Regions from separate parts of the Homo sapiens genome. Here regions 2, 3, 4 and 5 are each linked to region 1. Evidence: promoter capture Hi-C in 16 types of primary human blood cells and fetal thymus (Javierre and others, 2016). All regions are on one chromosome and are shown on one strand. Each heading gives the region's core, a stretch centred on a gene start or on the middle of the fragment in contact. The rest is flanking DNA. Distances are from core to core; before and after follow the strand shown. Region 1 holds the start of AGL (amylo-alpha-1,6-glucosidase and 4-alpha-glucanotransferase). Region 2 has its middle 11 kb from the start of LINC01307. Region 3 overlaps SLC30A7 (solute carrier family 30 member 7). Region 4 overlaps EXTL2 (exostosin like glycosyltransferase 2). Region 5 has its middle 33 kb from the start of EXTL2.

Evidence for each region. Contacts are between HindIII fragments. The CHiCAGO score rates a contact against its expected background, and 5 or more counts as called.
Region 2: a fragment that was not itself captured here is called in contact with the fragment with the promoter of AGL in region 1 in 2 of 17 cell types (activated CD4 T cells and naive CD8 T cells); the score reaches 7.4 in activated CD4 T cells.
Region 3: a contact is called between a fragment that was not itself captured here and the fragment with the promoter of AGL in region 1, in 8 of 17 cell types (total CD8 T cells, naive B cells, naive CD4 T cells and 5 more). The highest score is 8.6, in total CD8 T cells.
Region 4: a fragment that was not itself captured here is called in contact with the fragment with the promoter of AGL in region 1 in 8 of 17 cell types (non-activated CD4 T cells, naive CD4 T cells, total CD8 T cells and 5 more); the score reaches 8.8 in non-activated CD4 T cells.
Region 5: a fragment that was not itself captured here is called in contact with the fragment with the promoter of AGL in region 1 in 12 of 17 cell types (naive CD4 T cells, total CD4 T cells, naive CD8 T cells and 9 more); the score reaches 11.4 in naive CD4 T cells.

The regions. Positions count from the first base shown.
Region 1 is chr1:99,849,077-99,851,639 of GRCh38, reverse strand. It overlaps AGL (amylo-alpha-1,6-glucosidase and 4-alpha-glucanotransferase), which reads right to left and starts at 1,279. Exons shown (of 34, transcript NM_000642.3): 1 at 1,225-1,279; 2 at 516-665. The coding sequence starts at 597. RefSeq lists enhancers at 185-1,158, 1,809-1,958, 1,159-2,133 and a silencer at 1,309-1,628. The HindIII fragment of the contact is 4,640 bases long and covers 1-2,563 here.
Region 2 is chr1:101,311,393-101,313,955 of GRCh38, reverse strand. No RefSeq gene overlaps it. Among named protein-coding and RNA genes, the nearest start is that of LINC01307, 11 kb to the left of the region's middle. RefSeq lists an enhancer at 1,599-1,678. The HindIII fragment of the contact is 3,376 bases long and covers 1-2,563 here.
Region 3 is chr1:100,903,531-100,906,093 of GRCh38, reverse strand. All of the region lies in intron 2 of SLC30A7 (solute carrier family 30 member 7), which reads right to left. Among named protein-coding and RNA genes, the nearest start is that of SLC30A7, 8.7 kb to the right of the region's middle. The HindIII fragment of the contact is 1,210 bases long and covers 686-1,895 here.
Region 4 is chr1:100,882,587-100,885,149 of GRCh38, reverse strand. The region is part of intron 2 of EXTL2 (exostosin like glycosyltransferase 2); the gene reads left to right. Among named protein-coding and RNA genes, the nearest start is that of EXTL2, 11 kb to the left of the region's middle. RefSeq lists a silencer at 843-1,137. The HindIII fragment of the contact is 3,425 bases long and covers 1-2,563 here.
Region 5 is chr1:100,860,904-100,863,466 of GRCh38, reverse strand. No RefSeq gene overlaps it. Among named protein-coding and RNA genes, the nearest start is that of EXTL2, 33 kb to the left of the region's middle. The HindIII fragment of the contact is 2,059 bases long and covers 262-2,320 here.

The DNA of each region.
Region 1 (2,563 bases), core at 30-2,529:
CTAAGAAAATATTTTCAGCTTTTACCTACTCCACATTTGAGAAGTTTTTGATATACATAAACAATAGTTTACTATACTTTTTGCTGCAATCTATTTTGTCAATTCAAAGGTTCAACAAAGGAAAAGAGACAGTTATACAAAGGCAAAACTACATGCATACCCAAAGCAAAATTACATATGAAGTAATTTACCAAGTTTTAATAGTAAATGTTATTAGAAATAATATGGGCAATCTTCTGATCATATATTTAACTTCAATCTTAAGTGGGAATTAGTACGCAGAGAAAAGAGAACTATTTTATCCTTATCCTAACACGAGGGATATAAAATATTTTTAATTCAAATCAACATTAATTAGTGATATATGGAGAACACAGCACCATCTTTGCACAAATCAAGTTTTAGACCCTTGGAAATAATATTTATCTTAGAGCTTTAAAACATTTAACAGGACTGCCAATGAATTAAAAGTTTAAAAGACGCAAATGAGCAAATCAAAACAACTTGCTACTGACCTTGTTCAAGTCTGAAGAGGGTCTTTTCCAGTTTCTCCATTTCGTTCAGAAGTAAAATTCGAATCTGTTTACTGTGTCCCATTTTGGCTTCTAGAGGATTTGAAATCTTTCATAAGAATTAAAAGAACTCCACAGTCGAATGAGTTACCCCTATGAAACAAAAAGGAGTTAAAATATCGAAAATAACTATTGCCTTAAACTCTCCAGAGCTGACAGCGGCACTTACATGTTCGAAGTGTGTTTTATGCCTAGCAGAGCAATGAAAGAGAATGAATCTTATAACTATTAAGATTCGAGAAGGCAAATTAATAGTTGTTTCCTGCCTTTGAGCACAACGAATAAGACCGAAATAAAAATGCTGTATTACAGATTCTTACAATTAAAAAATTAAAAACCTAGACCATTCTCAGAGAAAAGCAATACACTTAGGAAAGCCTGAAGTCAGGGGGACATTCCCAGCCCCAAGCCACAGGGCTCTGGAGACTCCGAATGGCACTTCTGCTTACAAGAGATTAGTCTGCTCAAAGATAACAGGTGGGCAATCTCCCCATTCCCAAATTCGGGTCGCCAGCCACCAATGGGGAGATGAGAACAGAGGGAAGCAGTTGTTGCCTCTGGAATAGCTGCCGTAGACAGAAGATGTACAGAGCGAGCTATAGATAGAAAGAATGCGTTTCCCCGCGAGGCCAGCGGCATTCCTAGCACTTACGCCGAGGGAGTTATACGTGCGGCTTCTGGGGCACTGCAGGACCCGCGACTCTGGTGCTACGGTCGGGGGGAGGGGACGGGGAGAAACAGAAGGGGAAGGGCTGGCTGCCCAGCCTCGCACAGAAGCCGCAGCCCAAGGAGGGCCGGGCGCCGTGAAGGGCAAAGGGAGGGGCGGCGAGCGACCGGGGCAGCGCCGAGGCAGCTGGGTGAGAAGCAGGCAGAGTCTCAGCGACTTCGCCTCGCGCGGGTTCCTGGGCGCACCCGGTACCCAACCTGGCCGTGCGCGCACTCGCCCCAGGTGGGAGCGGACCGTACCTCTGGCCCACTTCCGGGAGGCTCGACCCGCCCGCCCCGACCGCTAGTCTCGCGAGAGCGTGGGCACCGCACCGTCTCAGTCGGCTCCGGGCCGGGGGACCTGGAGCCTGCTGCGGCTGAGGCCGGGAGCGGCGCTTTCTCCTTGCCCTGGGGAAGGTGCACCGGCCAAGGCGCGGCCTTCCTTTAACAGCCTGCGAGCTCACAGTTGCACATTAAAATCCCGCGGTACCGGCTGCGAGCTAGGTTGAGCTGCACAGTAGGATCTTTTGCTGGGAAGGGCTGAATGGTGAGGGGCAAACGACCTGGCTTCTGGTGTCTTTTGTGCCACCACGTGTTTTGTTTCTTTGTTTTGATAATTTTTACTTGGCCTAAGTTCTCAGAGTCCTGATTTCTAAGTGTCTAAAATAAGGGGCCTGGCTACAGCCTTGACATTCCAGCCAACACGTGTCCATCACTTCTAGTGCTAACAGACAGGACACATGTTCCTGAATGCAGACCCAGTAGGTAAGGTGTGGCCAGTCTGCAAACCATCGAGAGTGCAAACACCACTGATACTTAACGGTGTCCGGGTGTACCTCATGTACACTAGATAGACCCGGAGATCGTCTGAGATTAAGCTGCACTTATGTTAGGCCAGTAACTCAGAACTTTTTGCAGATGCTTAAGGAGATTTAATGCCTGAGGGTAAAGGAAAACCCATCTTCCAGGGCTTTTGGAGGGCTCCTAATGGTTATGAGAAAATGGACAGAAGATTTGGTTAACTAAGACTTGTGGCGTGTGGAGAAGATTCTTGCATTCTTTATTGTGGAATGACTGTAGGTCCAAAGAGGATATAAGTTAAAAAAAAAAACCCCATACTGAAGTATTTGTTTATTTCTGTAGATTTCTGAGAATGGCTAGTTGCAAATGGTCCGTAACTGACTTTGGGAACCCACAGCTCATTTTCTGGCCCCTACTATTTGCCAGGCACATAAGGTGCTGGGAATGCAGCAATAAAACAGTCACTGCCCTCAAGGAACTCCTAC
Region 2 (2,563 bases), core at 44-2,543, 1.5 Mb before region 1:
GGTAAAAGTGGACAGCTAGAGATTCAATCTTGAAAAATGATAACAGCTAACAGCCTATGATGTGTCAAATTCTGTTCTAAGTGTTTTAGGTATATCAACTCATTTAATTCTCTTGACTACCTTAAGAGTAAATAGCACCATTTTATAGGTAAGGAAACTGAGTCCCAAGAGCAAGTTCACACAGCTAGTATATGACAGAACTCGGAGACAAAGAGCCACGACTGGTGAAGACAATAAAATCGCGGTATACGTTGCTTGGGCGTTCTACCAGGCTAGTCCCTGCCTAGCACATTTCTTCCACATGCTGCTGTCCACCATACAGGCGGCTTTTATGAAATGGGGGAAAAAAGCCATCAGTTGTCATAGAAACAATAGCAATTTGTGCCACCTGTGTGCAAGCAGATAGGAGAGGCTTGCTGCTGCTGTTTGGCTATTGTCCAAGGACCCAGATTGAGAAACATCAACTGGCTTAAAAGGGAGCCCCTGAATTTGAATGTAGGCAGTCTGAACCTAGGATCTGTGCTCTTAGCCACTACACAAAACTGTATCATACTACAATCTGGTAAAGGATGATTATAACTTGGAATTTGAACTTTCTTTGAAAGGGAATGAGGAACCTTTGAAGGGTTTTAAACTGAATGGTGCTAGGGACAAATTGGTGTTCTGAATCTTTTCTAAAGAAAGTGTCTCTAAGCAAGGTGCAGTGGCTCACACCTGTAATCCCAACATTTTGGAAGGCCAAGGTAAGAGGATCACTTGAGCCCTTGAAGTTCAAGACCAGTCTGGGCAAAATAGAGAAACCCTGTCTCTCCAAAAAAATAAAAAATTAGCTGGGCATGTTGGCACATACCTGTAGTCCTAGCTAATTGGGCGATTGAGGTGGGAAGATCTCTTGAGCCCAGGAGTTTGAGGTTGCAGCGAGCTATGATCTCACCACTGCACTCCAGCCTGAGCAACAGAGCAAGACCCTGTCTCAAGGAAGTCTCTCTGAAGGTGTGTGAAAGTCAGAAGGGGTGAGACTGAAGTGATGAGCCAAACTAGGACAGCTGGGACCTGAAGGCACGCAGACCTGTTTGGGTGAAGTCAGTACTAGGAAGAAGTCCCTGGGAGTACTGACATCATGAAGTCCAGTTGCATCCAACAGGGTAGACGGGCAGCTGGAGCACTGCCTCAGAGAGCCAAGTAATTGTATCAGAAGAACCCAGAAATAGACACCCAGCACAGCGTCCAGCATTTAGGAGCAAGACTCTGGTCCCAGGATAACTGGGCACAAGGAAGGCGAGAGAAGGTGATCAAAAAATGCCAGAAGGTGAGGGCAGGTGCTGTGGCTCATGCCTGTAATCCCAGCATTTTGGGAGGCTAAGGCAGGAGGATCCCTTGAGCCCAGGAGTTTGAAGCTACAGTGAGCCATGATCCCTGTACAGGGAAAGGGTTCAGGAGCTCAGGCCCTGTAGGTAACAAGACTAGGACTCAGTTACCAGAACAGCAGTATAAGCAGAGCTTAGACACAAAGAATCGGGCAAGAACCTAGTTCCTAGAACCTACTCTTAGAGTTACTACAAAGTGAAAGGGAAACCATCACAGGCGAACTCCATGAAGTAACATCAAAGCTCCCAGCTTAAAGATCCCACTGTCCTAATGTTCTGGACAAGAATTTCAGGTCAGGCTGAAAAATTGGTTCAGGAGGAGGCTCAGGGGCCTTGCCCAGGCTGCTGGAGGAAGCAGCCAAGTAGCGTGTCCCTGAATTTCTGGCCCAGTCCTAGCCCTAAGCCAACCCAACCCCCCGAACCCAGAAGTTTTCACCACAGGGCATGGGACACTAGAAACACAATGACTTAAATAGATGCTAAAAGGAATCTGGGTGAAACCACTGGAAACATTCAAATGACCGAGCCCAAGAATCTTGTATTTAATCAGGGTTCTCCAGAGGAATAGAACCAATAGGATATATACAAGGGCAGGGAAAGACCAACGTCCTTGCTCAAGCAACCAGGCAGGAAGCAAAAGGTGGCAAACTCCTTCCCCTACCTTTGTTCTACTCAGGTACTGAACAGATTATTGGATGATTCCCACCTACATTGGTAAGTATGGACCTTCTTTACTTGGTCTTCTGATTCAAATGGTAATTGCACCCTCATTGACTGTTGCAGAAATAAATTACAAATACATATAGGAAAAAGGACTTCAAAAGGCTGCGGTATCAAAGTGGCAGTTAAAGAGAAGGCAATACTCAGAGTTGCAGGTGGAGCAGCGGAAACTATGTTTATCAGCTTTACCCAGCCATCCCTCAGCCCAGTCAAGTTGACACATACAATTAACCATCTCAGAACTTGTGACCAACAAATGGATTTTGGATGCTGTCATGCCAAGTAGGCTTTCTTATCCCTAGTCTTTCAAGCGAAGTTTCATCTGGCTTTTCTCAGTAGGACCATCAAGTCCACAGAAGCCACGTCTTCCCCACTTTGACATGAGCAAGGAGATCCCAGGCATATAGCCTATAAAGGGGGTCAGACAGGGAAAGAAGCTGGAAGTGGACCAGCCAGAGTATCCCACTGGGATTTTG
Region 3 (2,563 bases), core at 41-2,540, 1.1 Mb before region 1:
CACAAAACCCAGCTCAACCCCAGTTTGACTACTGAGCAAATAGTTTCGAAAGTCCCATACTAACGGCCAAACAGAAAAATAGGTGTGCCCATTTCTGGACATATACAGTCTCTATTATTCTTTTAAACAGAATGTCCAGCACTCAATGACAAAATCAAGAAAGAAAAAAAGAGAGACTCATTGTTAAGAGCTACAACAGTCAACAGAACCAGAAATGGCCCCAATGTTGGAACTATTAGATAGGACTTTAACAACAAATACAATTAATATGTCAAAGGATGTGGTATAAAGTCAGAGAAAATTCATTAACAAATGAATAATTTCTGCAGATAAAAACTATAAAAGAATATAATGGAAATGATAATTTTTTAAAAATTACAATATGGAGGAATAACAGTCATGGGCTTCTGAGCAGACTGGACACAGAGAGAAAGAATCAGTTAGGTCAAAAGAAGTTAAACAAAGTGCAACACAAAGAGAAAAGAGAGTGGAAACAAACAGACAAACAAAAAAAGCAGAGCATCCCAAACCTGTCTGGACGTATCAAACATACTAAAATACATGTATTTAGAGTCTCAGGAACAGAAAAGAAAAAAAGAAAGGGATAGGAAAAGTATTTAAAGAGAAAATGTTTCAGAGTTTTCTGAAATTCATAAAAGAAAATAAATCACAGATCCAAGAAGCTTAATGAACCCAAGCGAGGAAAAAACCCTCCACACGTCACAAACCACTAAACATCAAAGAGAAATAAAAAAATCTTTGAAAACCAGAGGGGAAGAAAGAGAAAAATTAAATTAAAAAAATAAAGATAAAATTTATAGCATGTTTTTCTTCAGAAACTATTCAAGCCAGAATGCAATGGAGCAACACCTTTAAAGTATTGAAAGAGAAAAAAAATACTGTCAACAACCTAAGGTATGACAATAATAGCACACAGAATGGAATAAGAAAATCAAAGTGTATTATTGTAAGGTTCTTATCAGATACATGAAATGACATATTATTTGTGATAATTTAAAGATTAATATTATACATACTAAAGCACCCACTAAGAAAAGCCACCAAAAGAAGGGAAGGAAATCCTCTACCAACACAAAGCAGACGTTCTGCTACCACTGAGAATGGAGAAGGAAAGTTGTCTCCATCCAGGACCATAAACATACACACAGTAGAGTTTGGCTATTACAGGAGAAGGAGTAAAAATGTTGACAAAATCATACCCCTGAGGTTGAGGCTTACAGAATCTACCAAAGACAGAGGCTTTGGGTTAAAGTTAACAAATACCCCTCTGCCTTCACCATAAACTGGGTACTGAGTAACAAGCAACAGCAGTCTATAGCTTGGGCAGGAGTAAGCGCATGAAGAAAAGAGCTTCTGTGGCACAGGCACCATACAGAGATTACTAAAAGCACAAAGTCCAACCAACTAGTGGTCTGACAGACAAGGCATACCTATTTCCGATCATAAATACTATTACCTCAGTATCTACTGTTTTTTACTCATAATGTCCAATATTTGATAAAAAAAATTTCAAAATACACAAAGAGCCAAAAAAAAAAAGAAGTCACTGTGGAGAAAGCAGTTAACAGAACCAGACCAAGATATTGACCCAGATACTGGAGCTATCATAAACTCTAATTAATATGTTAAAGGATCTATGGAAAAAGTGGACAAAAAAATATGAACCAGTGGGGAATTTGGTAGAGAAGTGGGAAATATAAAAAACAATCAAATGGAAATACTAGAAACAAAAAACAAGTTATCAGCGATAAAGAATTCTTCCAATTGGCTTATCACAGACTGGACACAGCTGAGGAAAGAAATCCGTGAACTTGAAGAGAAGTCAATAAAAATGTTCTGAAAGCAATCATCAGTTCAGTCTTTAAAAACAAGCTTCTGAAGTCAGAGTACCTGGGTTCAAATCCCAGCTCCAAATTTACTAGTTCCGTGACCAGTAAGTTACTTAACTTCTTTGTGCCTCAATTTAGCCATCACTTCAATAGAGTATAGTATAAAAGTGTCATAATTGTTATAATAATTGAGTTAATATATATGAAACATTTACCACAATGCTTGTCACATTAAAACCACATTAATATTCCTATTGCTAATTATTAATAAATCACATTATTAATTATTAACTATTATTAATGCTTATAATACCTGGTGTTCCCAAGCACAACCCATACCTCTTAATATTTGGCTAGATGCTAGAGTTTTCATCAGTTGGAAGTGCTACAAACTAAAAGTCAAAAACATTCTTCACACATACAGAAAAAGCATGGTTTTAAATTTTTCTCATAATTTGGAATAATTATATAATTAGAAACTAAGTCAAAGCACATCATTTACCAACAAGAAAAAGCACAATAATTTATAAACCTCTGCCAAATCATTACAAAAGATTTTAGAAAATGTCTTAAACTTTTATCATGAACCTTATTTATTCCACTGAAATATAGATATATTAGAAAGTTTAAGTGCAGATAGTACTTTAACCATCTCATCTGACATCTAACTCAAAGCAGAATGAGAATTGGTGAATAAATGATAAAGCAGAATA
Region 4 (2,563 bases), core at 33-2,532, 1.0 Mb before region 1:
TGTGTGGTCTGTGTTTGAGGTCACATTTCATGACATGCTCTTCTAGTCACCAGATGGGTGATGACCCAGCTCTTCTATGTAGGGAACAGTTGCTTTGGTACTGTCTAGTCTTAATTGGGCCTTAATTTACATTTAATCTGCATTTATTCTGTTAATGTTTCAGGCATTCATTGACATTTAGGACAATTTAGACATAAATTCCCTCATTTAATTCAACTATAGTGATGTGAGCACTGAGTCAAAAAATGGGCCAGACACTGTTCTGGATTATAAAGAAGGACAGAAACTTCCCTCAAGATACGTTAAGACTGAAAAAAACAGCAAAAGAACAGTCGATAGTTGAAATACCTGAAAACAAGGACTAGAAACACAGTAATCAGAGTTCACTGGAATACTCAGGGTGGAGAGTGGTGAGGGAAACATTTATAGGAGATGTGATATTTGAAAGAGATTTGAGGGGCAGGGAGTAAGAGTTTGTCAGATAGAAGGGTTTTGGAAGTAGAGAAAATAGCATGTACCAATACATGGAGTCGTGGATCGGCTCACTGTATGTAGGTACCATTGAGGGGAAATGTCTTTTTGGAATTTGGCACCACATGCGCCTTTGCCTTAGTTTAAACAGTGTTGGTTATCTGCATGCCATAAACCTGGTCAGAAACTGGTCATTGGTTGTAGAGCCGTCTCTTCCAATTTTCTTTTTGCATCTTCTTACGTGCATCAGCTCAGGTTCTGCATTGGCCTCTGTATTCAACCTTGGAATGATTTTATCTCTTGGCAGCTGAGGCCCCTTTTCTGAGCATCTACATTCTATATTCATCAGTTTATAGGCAAGTAAATATTCTAGAAGATGAGCCAGAGGAGAAACAATCTGGACAGTATGAGGCAAATCTCGTAGTGAAATGGCAGAATAGTTATCGTTCTGCTGCCATCTGTGGCAGCAAAATAAAAATGACAGCTTCTCATTGTACAACACCACGTTGCTCATTGCTTTTCTACCTTATGAGTCAGAGAACATAATCTTTGTTCATGCTGTGCACTGGCATGTTTGTTTTCAGCTTCTCTCTGGATAATTATTGCTTTCCAGTCTGAAGGAACTAGCCTTGAGGAAAGAATCCTTCAACGGTGTTTCTTCTAGGGAACTTTGATAGATTATGTAGTAAGTAACTCTATAGCAGATCTTTGGAAATTCAAATTGCCTGGTCCATTTAAAGACATCCATGACAGAATTTGTACTGTTATTTAATATACTATATATTATTTACTTTCTTATTCTATGTCCACATTTAAGAAAATTACTTGTAATTTCAAATAATGCTCTTTGAAAAGCTACTTCAGTTCTCAGATATTTAAATATTACTGACATAATGACCCAGCAATTCTACTCTTAGGTAAGCACCTAAGAGGACTGAAACCATAGGTTCACATAAAAACTTGTACATGAATGTTCATAGCAGCATTATTCATAATGGCCAATATGTGGAAACAATTCAAACGTCCATTAACTGATGAATGAAGAAAATGTGGTCTATCCATAGAATGGAATGTTACTTGGCAACAAAAAAAATGAGGTACTGATATATACCTCATGATATATACAGCATGGATGAACCTCAAAAACATTATGCTAAGTGAAAAAAGCCAGATACAATGGTCATATATTGTATGATTCCATTCATATGAAATATCCAGAATAGGCAAATCCACTGAGACAGAAAATAAATTAGTGGTTTCCTGGAGCTGGGATGGAGGTCAGGGGTTAAGGGAAGTGAAAATAGGGATTGGCTGCTAATGGGTCTGGGGTTTCTTTCTGAGGTGTTGAAAATGTTTTAAAATTAAATTGTGGTGATGGTTGCAAAACTCTGTGATTATATTAAAAGCTACTGAACTGTATACTTTAAATGGGTAAATTTTATTGTATGTAATCTCTCCTTAAAGATACTAAAAAACTCCAACATAACAAGTATAATTTTTTATATTATCTTGCAGGTTAGTGACAGTCTTCCTTATTAATTTTTTGACACATCCTTGCAGAATTTACCCTAGCATAGTGGAAAGAGTTGTGGACTGTGCCATCAGAAGGTTTAGAGTCTTCTCTTGGTTCTGCTGCTGATTAGCCACATGCAGCTGCATGACCTTAGGCAAGTTCCTTATCCCCGGACCTTGAGTTGTTTATCTGTGAAACAAGGAAACTGGCTAAGGAGGACCCTGAAGTCTCTTTCAGCTCTCTGAGTTTCTGTGTTTGTGCAATAAGTCATATAATTATGTAATTATTGGGGCAGTATTTTTTAGTTGGTTTGTTGTGTTTTTTGTTTTTTGTTTTTTTATGAGATGAGAGTCTCACTCTGTTCCCCAGGCAGGAGTGCAGTGATGCAATCACAGCTCACTGCAGCAGCCTCAACGTCTTGGCTCCAGCTATCCTCCTGCCTCAGCCTCCTAAGTAGCTGGGACTATAGGCATGCACCACTACAGATGGCTGATTTTTTAATTTATTTGTAGGAATGGGGTCTCATGACATTGCCCAGGCTGGTCTCAAGTTCTGGGGCTCAGGCAGAATCCTGCTTTT
Region 5 (2,563 bases), core at 42-2,541, 1.0 Mb before region 1:
ATAAAGACATCAGTCAGATTAGATTAGAGCTCAACCTAACAGCCTCATTTTAAGTTAATTACCTCTTTAAAGGCCCCATCTCCAAATACAGTAATATTCTGAGGTACTGGGAGTTAGAGCTTCAACATATGAACTTGGGAGGGGACACAATTCAGACTCTAGCACCCACTAACCCAGCTAACTCTCACTCACCCCTCTGGATGCATTTGCTCATGTCACCCTCCCTAGGAAGTCTCTGAAGCCCTAGATCTGAGTTAAGCTTCCCTCTATTGTAGCACTTCGTATTCTATATTGTAATTTCCTTTTTACTTCTCCAAAACCTCCATTGGATCTAACTCCTTGAGGGCAGGAGCCGTGTCTTATTATTTATTTTTCTAGCCACAGCCCCCAAACCCCAAAGCTGAATCACATAGGTGTTTAATCAGCTAATTAATCAGACAAAAATATATTGGTTCATATTTTCCAGATCCTTGTTTTGGTCAGGCACTTTTCAGGAAATTAATGTTAAAGTGGCAAAAGGCAAACAAGTCCAAATAAAGCCCCTCCTCTCATGGAGTAAATATTTTCACAGGAGGACAATAAGTTGGTGAAAATACGTGATATAATCTCTGGCCCCGATAAAGAAAATAGAGTAATGTGATGGAGAGTAGCTATAGGAGACTTCTTTCACTGGTGGTTCAGGAAAAGCTGGAGGAGGATGTGAGGTGTGGTTTGAATGATGAGTTGTTAAGGCATGCTCTGTGGGAAGAGAATTTCAGGCAGAGAGAACATCAGGGGCAAAGGCCCCAATATAGGAATAAACTTGGCAAGTTTGGGGGATGACAAGAATGCCAGAGGACTGCAGAGCAGTAACTGAAGGTGAGAGTAGAAGGAAATAATGCCAGAATCTTGAGCTGTGGACTAAGTACAAAGGAAGCCTCTGAAATGTTTTCACCGGGGATGGGATATGACGATTCATATGCTTAATAAGATCACTCTGGATGCTGTATAGGATGTAGATTTTAGAAGGGCAAGAGTGGGACAGGGGGACAAATTAAGAGATTGCTGGCACTAATTCAGAGAAGTGGTTCTCAACTGGGAGTGATTTCGACCCCCCCAAGCCCCATAAGGGACATTTGGCCACGTCTGGAGAGATTTTTGGTGTTCATAACTGTGTAGTGGGAATGTGACTAGCATCTGGTGGGTAGAGAGAAGGGCTGCTGCTGAACAGCCTACAGTGCACAGGACAGCCCTCAGAACAAAGAATCACTTGGTCAAAATGTCAATAATGCCAAGACTGAGAAACCCTGATCTAGAGAGAAATAATGGTAGTTGGGACCATGGTGGTAGTAATGAAGTTTGTCAGAAGTAGTTAGACTTAAGGTATGTTTGGAGTTAGCCAGTAAGACATACAAGACTTGTTGAACAGATTAGATGTGGGCTCCTGGGTTTTTCGCTGAAGACATGGGGTAGATGTTGGTAATATTTACTGAAATGAGGAAGACTGGAGATCAATCATTAAAGCATAGATGATATTAAGAGCCCTCAGAGTTGGTCGAATCATTTAGGGGGATAGCATAAATAGAGAAGGAGAGAGGGCTGGGCAGAGCCTGGGACACTCCAGAATTGAAGTTCTAGTGAACAGAAGAAGCCCGTACATGAGTACAGAAGTGCGGTGCCTGGGAAGGCCCGAGAGGATATGTTCCAGGTGCAGGGGAGGGTGGCCAAAGGGGCAGGAACTCTGTTTTCCTGAAAAAGGAGGGAAGACAAAGTTCATAAACAAGGATGTAGGAAGGCAAGTGGATTTTGTGATGAGAAAGAGGGCATTTTGCATGTTGACATTTATTGTCTATGACGAAAGTCTGAGTATGAGTATCAGTTGAGTGTGAGTGTGTGTGTATGTGGGAGGTATGGGGATTTGAGAGAAGAGAACATTGTGAAATAGCTCTCTTGGAAAGGAGGAAAATGAAGTTACCAGGGCAATGAGATAGAATAATCTGGGACTATTTTGAGTCATTTGAGATTTGTAGTTACAAATTTAAAGTGAGTCCAGTCAGCACAATTTCTGGATTCATAATTTATCAACAACCTTTATTGAATGAATAAAATATCATAATAATAGTAATATTAACATCTACCATGTTGAGTATTTACAATGTAGCATGCATCATGCTTTATGCAATGTTCTTATTTAATATTCTCAAACAAATCTTATGAAATAGGTATTATTACCTTATTTAACTGACTTAAAAAACTAAGAATTAGAGAGGTTAAATAATTTGTTCAAGGCCACAAAGTAAAAAGGTCAGGATTCAAACCTGGGTCAGTCAGTTATAAAGCTTATATTCTTAACTATTAATAATATATCCTACTCAGGCTACCATTAATAAAAACCACTGCCCTGACCGGGGCTTTGTAATTACCCTAGTCTTCAGAAAGCCAAAGATACTAGTAACTCTAGGAGTAGTGGTGGGAATAAATGAAGATAGTGCTAAAAAAAGAAAAAAAACCTAAGTTTCATTAAAAATGCATGTAATTAATTGCTACAATTTACTGCTTTATGATTCTTCTCTTGCAAGATTCT